Linked DNA regions of Homo sapiens: region 2 is linked to region 1. The links are contacts of gene promoters, found by promoter capture Hi-C in human tissues and cell types (Jung and others, 2019). All regions are on one chromosome and are shown on one strand. Each heading gives the region's core, a stretch centred on a gene start or on the middle of the fragment in contact. The rest is flanking DNA. Distances are from core to core; before and after follow the strand shown. Region 1 overlaps DIP2B (disco interacting protein 2 homolog B). Region 2 holds the start of GPD1 (glycerol-3-phosphate dehydrogenase 1).

Region 1 (2,700 bases), core at 126-2,625:
TTTGTATTTTTTGGTAGAGACGGTGTTTCTCCAAGTTGACCAGGCTGGTCTCGAACTCCTGACCTCAAGTGATCTGCCTGCCTCGGCCTCCCAAAGTGCTGGGATTACAGGTGTGAGCCACAATAATTGTATTTTTTTTTTTTAATGTTGAACTGTCTTAATGCAAGGCATATGCTTAATTATTCAGAGTGTGTGCTGTTGTTTTGGCCTAGTGAGGATTAGGGGACAGGACTTTAGTTCTGACTCTGACACCTTGTAGCCTGTTGAATCCTTCTCCTAATCTCCTTTCTCCCCTACCCCCAAACTCATTATCCTGTGCTTTTTTTTTTTTAATTTTTTTGGTCACACTTACCAGATTGCTTGTTTATTATTCTCTAATTTTTTTTTTTTTTTTTTTTTTTTTTTGTAGAGACAGGGTCTCACTTTGTTTCCCAGGCTGGTCTTGAATTCCTGAGCTCAAGCGATCCACCTGCCTTGGCCTCCCAAAGTGCTGGGATTATAGGCTAGAGCCACTGCACCTGCCAGATTGCTTTATAATTGTTTGTTTACACTTCTCTATTCTTCCCAGAGGCTAGAAACCATGTCTTATTCATTTTTACCTTACCTGTTGTGAAACATTGAGGGAAGGAAATCGGTAGGATGTGAGGGAATAGGTAGGGATTGAGTAAAAAATGGCCCAGATTTTGAGTTTGAGTGACCAGGCGAGTGATAGTGTGTTATATATACAAACATCTGAGTTGCCGGTTTGGGGTGAAGAGTTTAATTTTGGACATGTTGGAGTCTATGACAATGTGGGAAGACCATCCCAGTCAACAAATGGCATTGGGAGGACATTCGAGTGGCTGTTCAATAGGCAGTTAGAAGTGGTGAATTATATCCTGGAGCTGTTGAAGGATTTGGGCATCATCTTCATGTGATTCATCAGGTGAATCAGATCTTTGAAAAGGAAAGTAAAAAATGAAGCTAATGAGGAATGCCTCTGTTTAGGAAGCTAGAGGAGAAAGAAGAGTCATCCAAAATGACAGGGGTGATCAGTCACAGAAGTAGGAGGTGGACTGGGGTGGGTGGTGTGGTGCTTCTGTGGAGACAAATAGTAATGTTAAACCTATGGAGAGCTTAGGATAATTCAGTGAGAGAATACAAAGGACTGGATTTGTCAGTTACAGTCCTGTGGCAGAATCAGAGGCTAGATTGAAAACGGGAATGAGGACATAGAAATGGTGAGCGCAGGCTTCTTATTTTGAAGTTGGGAAAAAGGAATAAAGAACAAGGATGGATTCAAAAGAGTACTTATTTATTTTACTTTACTATTACTTCTTAATAGATACCGAGGAGTCTTCATAGGGCTAAGGGAAAGAGACAGAGGAAAGAAAAGCTTGTGTTGGTGTGGGAGAGCTGGGCATAGGTTAGATCTCTGGATGTGTGGAAGAGGTGAGCTGCTTGAGAACAGGAGGGCAGGGCTGCTGTTCTCTCCTTCTCTAATAAGAAGAAGAGGATGAGTGAAAAATTCCACCTCAGAGGGAGGTTGGTGTGGGGATAAAGGGAAAAGGTTCAGAAAGGTGAAAGCTTAAGGGTTTGAGAAATGTGAAGAGAACAAGTGCATCAGCCATCGGGGAGTGTGAGAGGAATTAATGAAACACTGAAAGCATTGCCGATAGTCAGCATGAATTTGGAGTGGACACAGAAGTATGAAATGGAAAATAGCCCCACCCCACCTCCGTGCCCAGTCCCACTTCCCAAAATGTAGCTACTTTCTAAAGTCAGTTTTGTAGTTCCTGTAGTTAATAGTGTAACTTTCAGTAATATGTTGCAGTCAACAGTGTCTCTTGATCCCCTTCTGTGAACCATGAGAAATTTACCCATTTCTTGTACTCTTTTCTTCCTGAGTTTTTTTTTGTAATAATATTACTATTTTTCTGTTATCAAAGTAAATAATGTTTATATTCTCTTTTGTATAACAAAAATTAGTCTTCACTCTGTATGTACAAATTAAGCCTAAACATATTCCACACATACAGTTTTTGCAATATTATTAAGTAAATATTATTTACTTTGGAATCTAGAGGTGCTGTTGAATACTGGGAAAAGCAAACATAGTATTTTATTACCAAACTGCTTCAAAGAGAATGGCCCAATCATCAAGATCTAGTGAATCCTCTTTCAATTTCTTTCCAGCTTTCTATGCTCCTTTTAGGTCTTACTCAACTGCTGTTGTTTCTTATACTTTAAATTGTCATTTTTCTTGTATTTTTTAAAAACTTGGAATAGTTACTGTTTTTAATATGGGATGCATGCGTGTTGAGCTTTAAGTTCTTGCCTTTCAAAAACGTCTTTGTCTCATTTGATTGTCATTTGAATGTAGCCCACTTGAATACTTCGGAAGCTTTTAGGGTTTGCTTTTTGTCTTTGGAGTTCTGAAATTTCATTAGGATGTGTCTAGGCATGTGTCTTTTCTCTTTCATCCCGTTTGGCTCTAGGTAGCTCGCTCTTTTCTTTTTTCTTTTTTTTTTTTTTGACAGAGTCTTGCTCTGTCGCCTAGGCTGGAGTGCAGTGGCACTATCTCTTATGGAATATTACATACAAAAGAATATATATAAAGTGTATGCACAGGCCGGGTGTGGTGTAATACCAGCACTTTTGAGAAACCTAGGCGGGTGGATCACCTGAGGTCAGGAGTTTGAAACCAGCCTGGCCAACATG
Region 2 (2,771 bases), core at 48-2,547, 430 kb before region 1:
CTGTAGCCCAGTGCTTGTTACCAGTTGCTGGCCAGCAACAGCCCAGGGGGATGGCAACACCCACCTAGCCGTCTGCCAAGCCAGGAGGTCAGCACATGAGCACACAGTGGTGTCTGCCCTCTAGGCCAAGGTGCACAGTGTTAGGAGCCTCTTGCTCCACTCTCCAGATCAGCCTGGAAACCAGAGCTTCCCTCGTCTTAGACAAACAGATGGCCGTGGGCGATGCAGAGCCCTGAACTGCTGAGGGTGCTCCTTCCATTCTCGCCCTTCCCCAAAAAACATACACCAAACTTACCCCCAATCACAGCATCTGAGACCACAAAGCCCCACGGACACAGCTGCCCCGGGTACTGCCTGCCTTCCCCTTTTCTGGCCTCTGCAAACTAGCCATTCACCTGATGAAGCCCCTGGGGCAGTACCTTGGAAACCCCTGAGAGGAGGAGTTGAAGGAGGCTCAAAGCCTTTCAAGGACAGTGTGCACTCTGCCTGCCTCCTATTCTCTCCTGTCCTCTTAAGCCCAGAGTCTACAACAAAATTGTGTACCGCAATTCTCAGAGCTCTCTAACTTTAACCTTTCCCACCTTCCCTAGAACACATTTTTGGGTGGGGATCATCTGAGAGGCCCATGGATGAGTCCCCAAGATGACCTCTGTGGGTGACCAAGACAATCTTGTCTTTTGAGGCACCTGGAGTCTCTCATCCTTTTTTGAGCTGGGCTGTCCTCAAAGCAGGCCCTTACCTCTTATGTGGCCTCATCTTTAGAGGTGGGAAGTGGGCCCACATCCCCCACCCCAGCCCTGCAGTGGAGCTAGCGTGGGCCTGCTGGAGGACAGAACTGTGGAACAGGGTCCTGTGAGGATATGTGGCAGGGTTGGCGGGGGGATAGGGGGTCATGGAGGAGCCTACCTCTGAAAAGCATTCCCCTAGCTGCTACTGAAGCTAAATACAATTTATTTCATGCTGGGGGACAGAAAGGAGCAAGGGAGAGCAGTCACCTGCTCCTTATCTGGGCTATTTTCTTAGCAGACCTCAAAATGAGACCATGGTGGGAAGCTGGGCTGGGGCCAAGGGAAGAAGCTTGCCAGCACTGTCAGCCGATGAGCCCAGGAGAAAAAGCTGGGCCTAGTCTCTGCCCCATTCCTGTTCCACACCTGTCTGTACCCCTGTCTCTCCTTTCCCTGGCTCTGCCAGACTCTCTATCTCCCTGGGCGCCAGCCTCCCCACCCACCCCTGGAGGGCGGGGCTTGGCTGCACCCACGTGTGGTGGAGTTAAATGCTCCTAGCCGGCAGAGGAGCTAGGGAGTGTGGCACTGAGCCGGCTCAGGCAGAGACGCGGCACCATGGCTAGCAAGAAAGTCTGCATTGTAGGCTCCGGGAACTGGTAAGCAGCTCTGTCAAGTGATATGGGGGAAGGGTAGGCCCCCCAAGACAGAGGTGGGTAGGAGGCAGAATGGGTGGGAAAGGCCCTCAGGTTCCTGTTCAGCCCCTGCTGCTATCTTCTATCATAGCAGCACAGGACAGACGGTGCCCGGCCCTCTCCTGACCCCCGCCCTCCTGGGCAGCTGCACCTGTTCACCATGGGAAGGCGTCTCCAGAGCTCTCTATGTGAAGAGCCGCTTGAGTTTGGGGGTGGGAAGATGAGAAGTGGGGCTCCCTTCTCTAGTAGCAAAGGGTGAGGAGACTGAGTCTCCTTTCTACTGCCAGGTCACTGGGGACTATTTGTCATGGGAGTGGAGGTGATAAGGAAGGTAGGTAGGAGTGAACAGCCTGGGGGGCTGCTGTGAGATCCTGAGGTGGGGCGCTGCCCCAACTCCTGCCACTGTTCCCTCCTCCTGTACTTTCCTGTGCTCCCCCTCCCACCAGGGGCTCAGCCATCGCCAAGATCGTGGGTGGCAATGCAGCCCAGCTGGCACAGTTTGACCCACGGGTGACCATGTGGGTATTTGAGGAAGACATTGGAGGCAAAAAGCTGACTGAGATCATCAACACGCAGCATGAGAATGTCAAATACCTGCCAGGGCACAAGTTGCCCCCAAATGTGGTGAGCCCCAACACCCTGCGAAGAACAGGGAGAGGAAGGGAGGGCCAGGAGTTGGAGCCGACCTTACTCAACAGGTGCCTCCTGCTGAGAGGGCCGCTTCAGGTGCAGCAGGACTTGGGAAGGTCTCAGGAGGGCTGCTCTGGGCCCTTTCCTGAGGACTGAGGAGAACCTATGCTTTCCCCTCACAGGCTCCCAGGCGGGTGGGTGGGGAAGGGATGGGAGAACAAGTTGGTCTCCATGGCAGCCAAAGACTGGGCTCCCAGACTTGGGGTCCAGTAGTGCCTGCCTCCGGCACTAATCCTGTTACTCATTCACTGAGTGAGTAGCCGACTTGGAGGCTGCTCCTTGGACTTACGGTCTTTGGTCAAATCCACGTGGCTCTCCCCACCTGGAAAGGGGAAGCAGGGAAGAGAGCAGAAAGGCTGGGGCTCCCCCTTCCCAGCTGGGGTTCCTGAGGAGCTGGGTGATGAAATCTTATTTGAGCTCTTTCTTTTGCCAAGCCCAGGCTGCTTTTGGCCTCCCGCACTGTCCCACAGCCAAGGGATAGGAGAGTGCTGGGATGAGGTTTCCAGGAGTCCTCAAGAGCCCAGGACAGCTGGAGGGAGACAGAGTGGTAGCTGGGGGGAGGGAGTAGAGTGTCTTATTCCTCCAAGTTCAGTCCTTCTAGATTCAGTCCCAAACAAGCCTTCCTGCTCCCCTACCAGCCTCACTCTTTGGCTCCCAGATCTCC

Evidence for each region. Contacts are between HindIII fragments. The study calls those that stand out against the background at their distance.
Region 2: the fragment with the promoter of GPD1 here is called in contact with a fragment that was not itself captured in region 1 in 3 of the 25 tissues and cell types used here (dorsolateral prefrontal cortex, hippocampus and mesenchymal stem cells).

Annotation. Positions count from the first base shown.
Region 1 is chr12:50,536,737-50,539,436 of GRCh38, forward strand. All of the region lies in intron 1 of DIP2B (disco interacting protein 2 homolog B), which reads left to right. Among named protein-coding and RNA genes, the nearest start is that of DIP2B, 33 kb to the left of the region's middle. The HindIII fragment of the contact is 3,334 bases long and covers 1-2,700 here.
Region 2 is chr12:50,102,711-50,105,481 of GRCh38, forward strand. GPD1 (glycerol-3-phosphate dehydrogenase 1) reads left to right here and starts at 1,298. Exons shown (of 8, transcript NM_005276.4): 1 at 1,298-1,381; 2 at 1,864-2,041. The coding sequence starts at 1,341. RefSeq lists an enhancer at 308-357. The HindIII fragment of the contact is 8,009 bases long and covers 1-2,771 here.